Regions from separate parts of the Homo sapiens genome. Here regions 1, 2 and 3 are each linked to region 4. Evidence: promoter capture Hi-C in 16 types of primary human blood cells and fetal thymus (Javierre and others, 2016). All regions are on one chromosome and are shown on one strand. The core of a region is centred on a gene start or on the middle of the fragment in contact, and the rest is flanking DNA. Distances in the headings are between cores, read along the strand shown.

Region 1 (2,700 bases), core at 36-2,535, 480 kb after region 4:
ACAGAAGGCATCTGGCAAATGGCAGCCGATGTTACCAACGCTAGGAAGACGGCTCTTCTGAATCAATGCCAAGACAGGGGTGGCAGGAGGGCAAATGAAACAGGACAGGTGAAGCTGCCTCTTCTCCAAAGGATAAACTCTTCTTGGAAAGTATACTTGGAAGACATGTCATATATTGGAAGAGCATGTGAACTGTCCAAGGAGCTTCCAAAGGACATATGATGAAACCTGATTTCCTGGCCAATCCTTTGGGACCCCTGATGGCATGTCAACAACAACCAGAAGTGCCCATGTTTCTCCTTGAAACTGTTATTCATGTCTGAGGGCATTTGTGCTGTCCCTTCTGTCTTCAGAGTCCAGTAATAAGAGGGATGTGAAAATCCCTCTACAAGTCATAAAAACCACTCATTCTCAATAGTTCATGAATAAAAACAACATCCCACACACGTGGAAAAAGAAAACATACCTCCTCTGGCAGCGTGGCTGAGAACACACCATTTCCAAAATACTTGCAAAACAAGATGCAATCGGATCACAAGGCAAAAACAAAACAAAACAAAACAAAACACATGAACAACACAGATGTTTCTTAATAATATATATCCTCCTCCTCTTAGCTTATTCTCTTGCCCCTTCATCCATCCATTCTCCTGCCTCCTGCTCTCTGTCTATATATATACATACATATACATATATATACACACACATACATACACACACACACACACACACACACACACACACATACAGAGAGGGAGAGAGAGAGAAGCTTCGTGTTCTTGCTGATGCTGATGAAAATTCAGCTGCGAGGATTGATTCCTCTTAGCAGATGTTTTGTGTTATCTCAGTACGTTCCTCAAGAAAGTGTCTGTTCGTCATGCCAAGGAAAACAATCCTGTGTAGCAGGACTTTGTTCCTCTGCCTAAAAAAAGAGAAAACAAAGTCCCCAAACAAGCTGACAGCTGCAAATGCTTAGAAATAAACTGGCTACTACTCTGTTTTCCAACTCCCTCCCTCTGCCCCTCCCCAGCCCCTTTGTGCTGTCCTCCAGTCTGTTATCATGGTGGTTGGGCCAAAAGAAAGACAAACAGTGGTATGTGATTATATGTTCTCAAGAGAGTCTTAATTCTTTCAGACATGCCATGTGCTGGGCATAGGAAGTGCTGTTTCAGCCACCCCAAGGAGCAACCATGAGTCCAGCGTGCCTGCTCGTCACACCTCCTCCTACCCCTGAGCGCCACTTCTGAGTTGCTCATCAGCATCCCCAGCTCCCAGATGGCTGCCTTTGTCCCCTGCTTTCACAGCATGGATGTGAAAGGAGCAGTAGATTAAGAAAGACCCAAGATAACCCGTGAAAGATATTCACTGTGGATTGACAATAAAAGCCATTAGAAACAAACCCTAGACCGTGTAAACCTGACCAGTTTGCTGAAAATCAAATGGGACAAATGAGCCAGAGCTGAGAACAGGATGTTAATGAACTTCATTGGTTCTGGAAAGTCAGGCTGAGGTACCAGGAGTTTGATCAGGAATATAGGTCTAGGACTACCACACCTTCTGGTTTTTTTCATGAGCCCCAACCAGAATTTGAAAGCCAGGTTCTTTGTCATGGATGTAATATTGTGAGTATCCTCACAAATAAAACTATTCTTTATTCCCCAGTAGAATCTTTCTTCCATTATGTGGGGACAATTAACACCAAGTCTTGTCTTGAACAGTTGCTGATCTCTAAATTTCTCTTCAGCCCCACTGCCTCCTTCCTAGCTCACCTCCTGCCTAGTTTATGCAGGTCCCTTGTAACTAAGCTTCCTTTCTTTACTCCTGCATTTCTTCAATCTCCACTTGGCAGGTGAAGGACCTTCCCAATACGCAAATCTAACCAGGAAGCCTGTTTTTCTGCATAAAACTCTAAAGCAGCCTCCTACTGCTTCCAAGGTGAAATCAAAGCTATTTAACATGCAGGCAAGACCCTTTATGATTTCACACATGCAGTGGTCCACCATCATTTCTGGATTCTCCCAACTTGCATGTAATACTCCAGCCATCTGAAGCTACGATCCTCTTTCTCACTTGCTTCTGGGCGTTGCTACATACTGGAGGGTTGGTAGCTGGAAACCTCTTCCTCAGCTTCTCCATTTCGCCTGACTAACTCCCATTTGTTATTCAAACCTTAACTAATTTGTCACTTCCTCTAGAACGTCCTCCCTGGCCACCTCACCCTCAGTCTAGGTAGGCATATCATAACACCCGCTGCTTCTTCCATGACAATACTACCACATCAACTTTTAATTGTCCTTTTTTTTTTTTTTTTTTTGTCTCCCAGGAGACTGAAAATTGTGTAATGTCAGGGATCTTTCTTGTTCATAGTCATAGCCCTGGCATCGAATGCATAGCAGAACACGGTGGTTCTCCATATGTAATTATTGAATGCAACGGATTGAATGCTTATGCCCCCCTCAAATGCACGTGTTGAAATCCTAATTCCCAGGCTGATGGTACTAGGAGGTGGGGCCTTTGGGAGGTGATTAGGTCATGAAGGCAGACACCCCATGAATGGGATTAGTGCCTTTAAAAAGGAGGGTCCTGGCTGGGCGCGGTCGCTCAGGCCTGTAATCCCAGCACTTTGGGAGGCTAAGGTGGGCAGATCACCTGAGGTCGGGAATTCAAGACCGGCCTGACCAACATGGAGAAACCCCGTCT
Region 2 (2,700 bases), core at 103-2,602, 430 kb after region 4:
CAAAATGATCAGAACAAGAATGACAACAGTGTCAACCAAATGATGCCTCCAACTCCTTTTAATGATTGTGCCTTGGTACACATTTCCTCAAAGATAATGGCTATACTTTTCCCACAATCTTTTTGCTTTTGTTTTCTCCCAGTGTGGTACTCATGGAGTATGGAAGGGACATAAGGTTTAGAGAACATAGGAAGCAATTTGCTTCCATCAATAACCAGAATGATGGATTGACATAAATCAGCACAAAAAGATAAGTGTAATTCTATTCAAGTCCCTTAATGTTTTGCCAATTAAGGTTTTTTTTTTTTTTTTTTTGAAACAACAACAGTGTAATCTTTAACAGGGATGTTAAAGGTAAGAAGTCAGGAAGATAAACCAAAATGATTGAGTATGATAAAGAATTTTGCATGGCGATTAAAATAGAAAACCTATAAATGTAGAAAAAGCAGGTCTGGACTTAGCAAAGAAACAATATAGTTTGGAGAAGGCATGAAATAAGTTCTTTTCATGTTCACTGCTGGTCACAGCCATAACAGAGAGTGATGTGGAGAGCTTTGGGAAGGTTTCACGTTGAGTTACATCAGTGGTCAACAATGGAGCAACAAGACTCCGTAGAGGATGCCACCCTGGGAGAATTGCAAGGGAAAGGAGGCTGAAGCACAACTGGTAATAGCCTTCAGATATTTAATGGATATGCAAATAAAGCTCTGATTAATTGTATTTTCACTTATTATATATCATCTTTGGACCTTTCTAAAAGTGGGACACTAGAAAAGATATACTGAAACTCAAAAAGAATACTTCAGCTCGAGTTGAATGGAATTCAAGATGTTGTGGAGGGTTCAGTGGGTTGGTTATACCAAAGAATGCTATAGAATTTCCATGCCCGAAGAACTGTGAGAGGAGTATAGATTTTTTCACCAAGGAAGTTACTGGCATGGTTTGAGAGATAGAAGGAATTGATTAAGAAACCTCTCAAAGTTTCTTCCACTTAACCTGGCTCTGAGACTCTGGGTCTTTGGAAATGAGAAAATACCCAGGGAAGAGAAAACGAACAATTTAAGAAGCAGGAAATGACTCTAGATCAGTATTTCTCAATTACAGCCGTGTAAGACATTTTCTTCCTAATCATCTCTCCCTTGCACCATCACCATGAAATTTTAATACCACATAAATACTTTGTATCTGTTTATGTACTTGTGATCCTTTGGAGGGTCACAACTCACTGTACTATCTAAGAGTTTTCCCAAAAAAACCATCTGACAATTAGGGAGTGTGTGCTCTCTATAAATAAACTATGGGTCCAAATGGGAGGTCATTGAAGACGGGAGAAAAAATAAAAGCGTTGAATATTTCACCTCTGGCTACAGGGAGCATACAAATCCTCACTTGCCCATGCTCTCACGTATTGCCTGCACATGGAAACTTCCTTCTTCCCCTCCCTCCTGTTATATGGAAAGGGATGAATGCTTTGCTAGTGCTATATCATCTGACTGCAATGCTTATAATATTTTGGGGATCCTGGGCCTCCTTGAGAACATTAAGGGATGAATGTACGTATGCACAGCCTCACACTCTATAAATGTATGTGTCCTGAATTTCAGAGCTTAATAATGAATTATGGAACTTGATAATGATTGGATCAGGCAGACAACACCTGATCAGTCCTAATATCAGAAAAGAGACAAGTAGACATTATGTGCTTCCTGAGGTGAGGCAGTAGTAAGGAAACAACATCACACATGTAGCAGTCTTGGGAAAAAAAATGTAACCTGTATCTCGTAATGAGGAAACAATCAGTAAAAAAGTCTAGATTGTGGGACATTCCACAAACTTGCCTGAACTCTTTAATAATGTCAGTGTCATGAAAGACACACCACACACACACACACTGCACATCATACACAAACACCACCCCACCACCCACCACTCAGACACACACAAAAGGGCAACTCTAATCAATTAAAGGAAACAAAAGAGAATGACAACTACATATAACGTATAATTCTTGATTGGATCCTGGATTTAAAAATAAACAGCTATAAAGGATATTTTGGGGACAACTGGAGAATTTTGAATATGGATCATATATTAGATTTATGCAGTATCAGTGTTCAGTTTCATGGGCGTGAAAATATTGCAGATTTATAGGACAATGCTCTTATTAAAAGAAAGAATATGATGAAGTATTTTACATTTTCATGATGTCTGCAACTTATTTTCAGAAGGTTCAAGAATAAGAATGTGTATTTACAGTGAGAAAGAAAATGTGAGGCAGGTGCGGTGGTACATGCCATAGTCCTGGCTACTCAGGAGGCTAAGGTTGAAGCTCACTTGAGGCAAGGGGTTCAAGGCCAGCTTGGGTAAAATAGGGAGAGACCCCTTCTCTTAAAAAAAAAAAAGGAAGAAAAGAAAACAAGGCAAAACATTAACAACTGATGCACTAAAGGACATAAGGGTACTCACTATAATCTTTCAACTTTGAAACTTTTACTTTAAAATTTCCCAAAATTAAAATGAAAGCAGAAAAAGAAGGAGAGTAGGACAGGTTAGGAAGAAGAAGGAGGGTTGTCAGTCTCTGACCCAGAGGGCTGAAGCTCCATTTATAACAGAGATGAACAGTTAGATGCAGTCAAGCAGAGGAGATAAAAATTGACTGCAGAGATTTTCTTCAGAATGTGCCAAAGTTCTGTGGGAACA
Region 3 (2,700 bases), core at 12-2,511, 380 kb after region 4:
CATTTTTCTTCTGTTCTGAAGTGGCATCAATAAAAGCCTTCCCATTCTTTATGGCAGCCTTTATCTGTACTGCTTTGCTGGGCCCGAATGATTCCAGTGGGGCTTGTTAGCAGTGGGACTGGTACCCTGAATGGTCTAATGACCTCTTTATTGGTTGAGGCCTATAGGGCAGCAACATAAAACAAATGAAAATGATGAAAAATTGATAAAATTGATAATTTTGCCTTTCTTCTATCATAGAAGCTCGTTGGGGGCCTTACAGCCAGCCACACAGTAAATTGACCACATTTGTAACGCTGATTGTGATCCAATGCATGCATAGTTGGAGTATCCCCAGAAATAAGGAAATAATAAAACTGAACAACTACTGAAACATAATTTAAGAAAGTTTTAACTAAAAAATTAAATTTCATACAAAAGTGATACTTTGTATGTAGACAGAAAAAATAGAATAGCTAATAAGACATATCTACTAAAGTTATTGGACTTCAGAATTAAAGGAAGAATCCTTTGGATAGGCAGACAAAAGTATCACACGACTCAAAGGGTGAAATAGCAGGCAAGCAGACTTCTCCACAGCAACATTTGTTATAAGAGAATGGAACATGGGAAAGAATGTTTAGCTTCACTAATAATTAAAGAAATGTAATATAAGATAAGGCAATAAAATTTTAACCAGATTTGCAGGCTTTAAAAAATTATAATGTGCATCGTAGGTAAGGGTTTGTGGGAAGAGAACTCTGAAACATTGAGAAGGACTATAAATTGTGAAAACCCTTCTGGAAGGCAATACAGTGACAATAAGATTTTTAAAGAATGCTTTAAAAATCTTAAAATTCTTTATCTTTAGTCCAATTATTTCAACTTGTGAGAATTTTAAGGACAGTTATTTACAAAGCCAAAAACTATTTATATACAAGAATTGGGGAGGGGGTAACAGGGAGTAGGTGGGACTACAGGCACGCGCCATCACACCTGGCTTTTTTTTTTTTTTTTTTACATAGCACAATAAAATTAAAACTATAAACACCACAACATTTGCAGTTAAAGGGAAATAATGTTAGCCACCAAAAAAACTTTGTAAGAAATAAGAGGAAGGTAACTAGCATTTATTAAGTACTTATATATTTGACCCTGGGGTAGGCACTCAATTTTCCTTTCATAGATAAGGAAACTGAAGCTCAGAAAAATTAAATAACTTGCCCAAGGACACCCAACTATTCTATGAAGAACTGAAATTCAGGTTTTCATTTGTGATTTGGAAGTATAGACTCTGCCATGCAGAAAGTTTATTAAATATCTTTTTTTTTTTTTTTTTTTTTTTTTTTTGAGACGGAGTCTCACTCTGTTGCCAGGCTGGAGTACAGTGGTGCGATGTCGGCTCACTGCAACCTCCGACTCCCTGGTTCAAGCGATTCTCCTGCCTCAGCCTCCAGAGTAGCTGGGATTACAGGCATGCGCCACCACACCCAGCTAATTTTTGTATTTTTAGTAGAGACAGGGTTTCACCATGTTGGCCGGGAGGGTCTCCATCTCCTGACCTCGTGATCCACCTGCCTCGGCCTCCCAAAGTGCTGGGATTACAGGCATGATATATGACGCCTGGCCTAAATATCACTTTTTTAAACACAAAAATGTTAAAGGAATACTACTCACTGAACTGCTTCTTCAATTTCTTTTTTATGTCATAAAAGAACTTCAGCACTTATAAATTACAAAAGTTTATAATTATTTTGAAAACTAAAGTCGATTCTTGTTATTTCAGGTAGTTATACTCTGTAAGTCACCACAAACTCAGATTTAGTGAACACTGAATCCACTGCTCCTAAAACAAACAAACATGGGGTTAGGTTCAGGTAAGTCTCTGGTCACATTTTTTTTTTTGGTCAATCAAAGTATCACCTTGCTTTACATATGTGTCATGTTTACAGACATCTCATTTAATACCCTCGTGGCCAACAGCACTAAAACTCATGCCTGAACAAAGTTTATCTAGCACATATTTTCTCTGTAAGGCACATCACATTCTTTTTATGCTTAGGAGCACTAGACAGCACTACAATGAGCGGCAATTTTCAGCACAAAATCACCAACAAAAAGCACACAGATACAAAAAAACCTGGCACTAAACGGACTGCAAAAGGACATTTTACATTATGTGAGCTTAAACAAGAAGGCTATCACCTTCTTCAGCCTTAACTGGGAATGTGCATGTCAGGCAATTCAAATTTTTTGCCACTCTGCGTTGTCTGTGAATGATCTCATAAGCACAGCAAGTCTTGATTTTAAGGTTACACGTCAATTTTACTGAGTAGGTGAATTCGCAAATTTGGAATCTGTGAATAATGAGGATCGACTTTTAAAATTTATGGTTAAGAGGCTACCCAATGATAATATACCTGCTTTCAATGAAAATGTTAGATCTGTGGGTGGGGTGGGGAAACGGACAGGAAAATGCTAACAAGCAGGAATCAATGTACCGACTGCCAGTAAATTGTGCCCCCTAGTGGACAAAAGGATAAATAGTCCTAGAATAATAAAACTGGAAATAACAAGGTATGCACTTTATATAAAGCTTTGAGCAGCGGGGAGATGAGGAACTAAATAATTCACATCAAATTTGCCAGAGTGTGCAATTCTCTTTTTTGGTCCAGATGTGTTTTTGTAATATAACATATCATCCTTTTCTGAAGCCTAGTG
Region 4 (2,700 bases), core at 6-2,505:
AAGGTGTTTGTATTGTAGTCACAACAATACAAAAAAACCTGCACACCCAAATATCAGAAAAATATAATACAATACCAGGCAGTCAGTAAAAATAACAAACCACGTATATAAAGAAGCCTATCACAACAATGCAGGTATTCAACAGCGGGAATAACACAATACAGCTTAAGTGTAGGAACTTAAAAACACGTATCTCACGAGGAGTGATTAAAAGAGGCCGCGTATCAAAATACTAATGGAGGGGCAAGAAAAGGGACTTGACGCTTTCCCTTTATTTCCTCATTGAATGAATTTAAAGTACCTATTCATTCATTTGTTTTCAAACAAATTATGAACTTTTTTAAAACGGCGTTCTCTTGGCAGACTGGTGGCGTATAAAGAACATGGCTTTTGTAGTCAGATATTTGGATTCAAACCTAGGAGCTATTAACAAACTCTGTGACCGTGGGTAAAGTTTAACTTCTTTGGGCCTCAATTTTCTTATCTCTAATGCGGAGTTAACCATATCTACGAAAAGGTGAAGACGAAGGGAGAAGTGTTTGGCTCGCAAGGGAAATGAAGGCTAGCTTCCAACTCGTATTCTTCCGGCAGAGTGAAACCATAGGAGTGGAAGGAGCCAAGAGTTTAAAAAATAAATTAAAAAAAAAGTGATCAGGAAATCCAGAAACTTGAAGTTCAAGATTCAAGACACGGATGGGAGTGTGGGGCTCACCAGGACTTAGGTAGGAACATGAACCTCAAGGACGGACGACCTTGAGATTGCCGCGCTAGCAGTGAGCTCCAGCCTGCGCCCCATCCCTCTGGAAGCCCGACTTCTTCCGAAAAAGCAGCAGCTCCAGGAAGCGGCCAGAGGGGCGCGCACGCACCTGCTGCAAGGAGCCCGAGACGCTGGAAGAGTCGGTACTCCTCCGCTTCCGGCGCTCGCTGCGCTCCACGCTGCTCCCGCCCCAACAGCTGCCGCCGCTCCCACCGCCGGTGACACTTCCACTAAAATTGGCGTTCCCACAGCAGCTGACGCTCCCGCAGCCCCCGGCGCTCCCGCAGCCGCTAGTGCTTCCACTGCTGCCGCTGGCCAACGCGGGTACGATGTCCGGGGCCGCGAGCGCTGCGGCCGCCTCCTGACTGCTACGTTTGCGCCGTTTCTCCCGGGAGGACTTTTTCCCCGTCATGATCCCTCTGCTGCAACCATCGGAGGAAAGTCCGCTGTCTCTGGTGCGACCGAAGCCCGACTCCTGCGGCCGTGGGCGGCAGGCACTGGCGTCGCAGGTTATGCGTCACTTCCGGCCGTGGCACAGAACGTGGTGAAGCGTTATGGGCCGGGGTGGCAGGGGGGTTGCCATAACCAGTTGCGCTTCCCCCTCCGGTCGCGGAGGTCGATTTGAGTGTGTAGCGGGTAGCCTGTCTAGTCAGAGTTTGTTTTGTTTTGTTTTTATATCTCTACAAAGGATAGAAGGTGGAACTTACGTCCTTTTAACTTCAAAACTTTTTATTGTTAGTGTTTTGTCTGTTTACAATAAGGTTGAAGTATAGTTGCTGATTCTCCATTTCCGTTTACCTCCAAATCTTAAGATATTAACAACGCTATGACAATAAAGAGAATAGGGAAAAGTTGTTCCATCTCATTTTCCTCATCACCTGGGCAAATTAGGTATTTCTTGCGTAGAGTCTGACATGGACAAGTAGAGCTTGAGTTCGTTTTTGAAAATTGAGAATGGGTCAAAGCTTTATGAGATTTTATGGGTGGATGTAATCTAAATAGAAGGCAGATTTTAAGACAAGGGAGCTAGAACACTTAAAACGTGAACCAAGGTCTTTGTCGTTTCAGCAGGGGCCTTTAGCCACTGAGGGAAAAAGGTAGAGCCTGGGGCAAAGCTAGCTGGGTGGTAGTAATTCTGTGCCTTTCCCTGGGGTAAGAAGCAATTAAAGAAGCTTCCCTTCTCTTTGTCTCCTATTTGTCTCAGTCATTCAACAACTACTTAAATGCCTAAAACCAGCCTAGGGTTAATAAATAGGGACACTTCCAGCCCTAGGAAAACTGTCTTCCCCCAGGCCCCACTCTTAAATTGGCCTTGTAAGGTAAATCCTGGGGCTGAGCCCACTGTGTTCCCAGGAGTTCCGTTAAGTATCACACTCATTGGAGTCATACCTGAAAGGATTGAGAGTGTTGTGTTCACAGATAGGAAAAACACATAAAATTAATAACATGTTACATTTATAAACCTGTTATGAATTGTGTCCCTGAAACCATCATAATTTTAATAAAACTAAATTGCTAGATTTTTTCTTTTTTCTTTTTTTTTTTTTTGAGACGGAGTTTCACTCTCGTTGCCCAGGCTGGAGTGCAATGGCACAATCTCGGCTCACTGCAACCTCCGCCTCCCGGGTTCAAGCATTTCTCCTGCCTCAGCCTCCTGAGTAGCTGGGACTACAGGCATGCGCCACCATGCAGGGCTAATTTTGTATTTTTAGTAGACAAGGGGTTTCTCCATGTTGGTCAGGCTGGTCTCGAACTCCCGACCTCAGGTGATCCACCCGCCTCAGCCTCCCAAAGTGCTGGGATTACAGGCGTGAGCCATCGTGCCCTGCCAAATTGCTGGATTTGTGACAAAAGATAAGCTTTTAGTAGAAGCATAGCTAAACGTTAACCAACTTTTCCTATAGCCCACTTCCTTATAGCTGCTTATTGCTTTATAGATATCT

The links. Contacts are between HindIII fragments. The CHiCAGO score rates a contact against its expected background, and 5 or more counts as called.
Region 1: a contact is called between a fragment that was not itself captured here and the fragment with the promoter of CAAP1 in region 4, in 1 of 17 cell types (total B cells). The highest score is 5.9, in total B cells.
Region 2: a fragment that was not itself captured here is called in contact with the fragment with the promoter of CAAP1 in region 4 in 1 of 17 cell types (total B cells); the score reaches 5.1 in total B cells.
Region 3: a contact is called between a fragment that was not itself captured here and the fragment with the promoter of CAAP1 in region 4, in 7 of 17 cell types (total CD4 T cells, megakaryocytes, naive CD8 T cells and 4 more). The highest score is 8.4, in total CD4 T cells.

The regions. Positions count from the first base shown.
Region 1 is chr9:27,367,642-27,370,341 of GRCh38, forward strand. The region is part of intron 2 of MOB3B (MOB kinase activator 3B); the gene reads right to left. Among named protein-coding and RNA genes, the nearest start is that of EQTN, 72 kb to the left of the region's middle. RefSeq lists enhancers at 1,440-2,193, 2,194-2,700. The HindIII fragment of the contact is 1,036 bases long and covers 768-1,803 here.
Region 2 is chr9:27,325,674-27,328,373 of GRCh38, forward strand. MOB3B (MOB kinase activator 3B) reads right to left here. Exons shown (of 4, transcript NM_024761.5): 4 at 1-2,700. Among named protein-coding and RNA genes, the nearest start is that of EQTN, 30 kb to the left of the region's middle. The HindIII fragment of the contact is 2,910 bases long and covers 1-2,700 here.
Region 3 is chr9:27,274,126-27,276,825 of GRCh38, forward strand. It overlaps the pseudogene REXO6P. Among named protein-coding and RNA genes, the nearest start is that of EQTN, 22 kb to the right of the region's middle. The HindIII fragment of the contact is 2,624 bases long and covers 1-2,573 here.
Region 4 is chr9:26,891,547-26,894,246 of GRCh38, forward strand. It overlaps CAAP1 (caspase activity and apoptosis inhibitor 1), which reads right to left and starts at 1,256. Exons shown (of 6, transcript NM_024828.4): 1 at 867-1,256. The coding sequence starts at 1,169. RefSeq lists enhancers at 655-1,234, 806-985, 1,066-1,285, 1,235-1,814, 1,416-1,485. The HindIII fragment of the contact is 2,677 bases long and covers 1-1,720 here.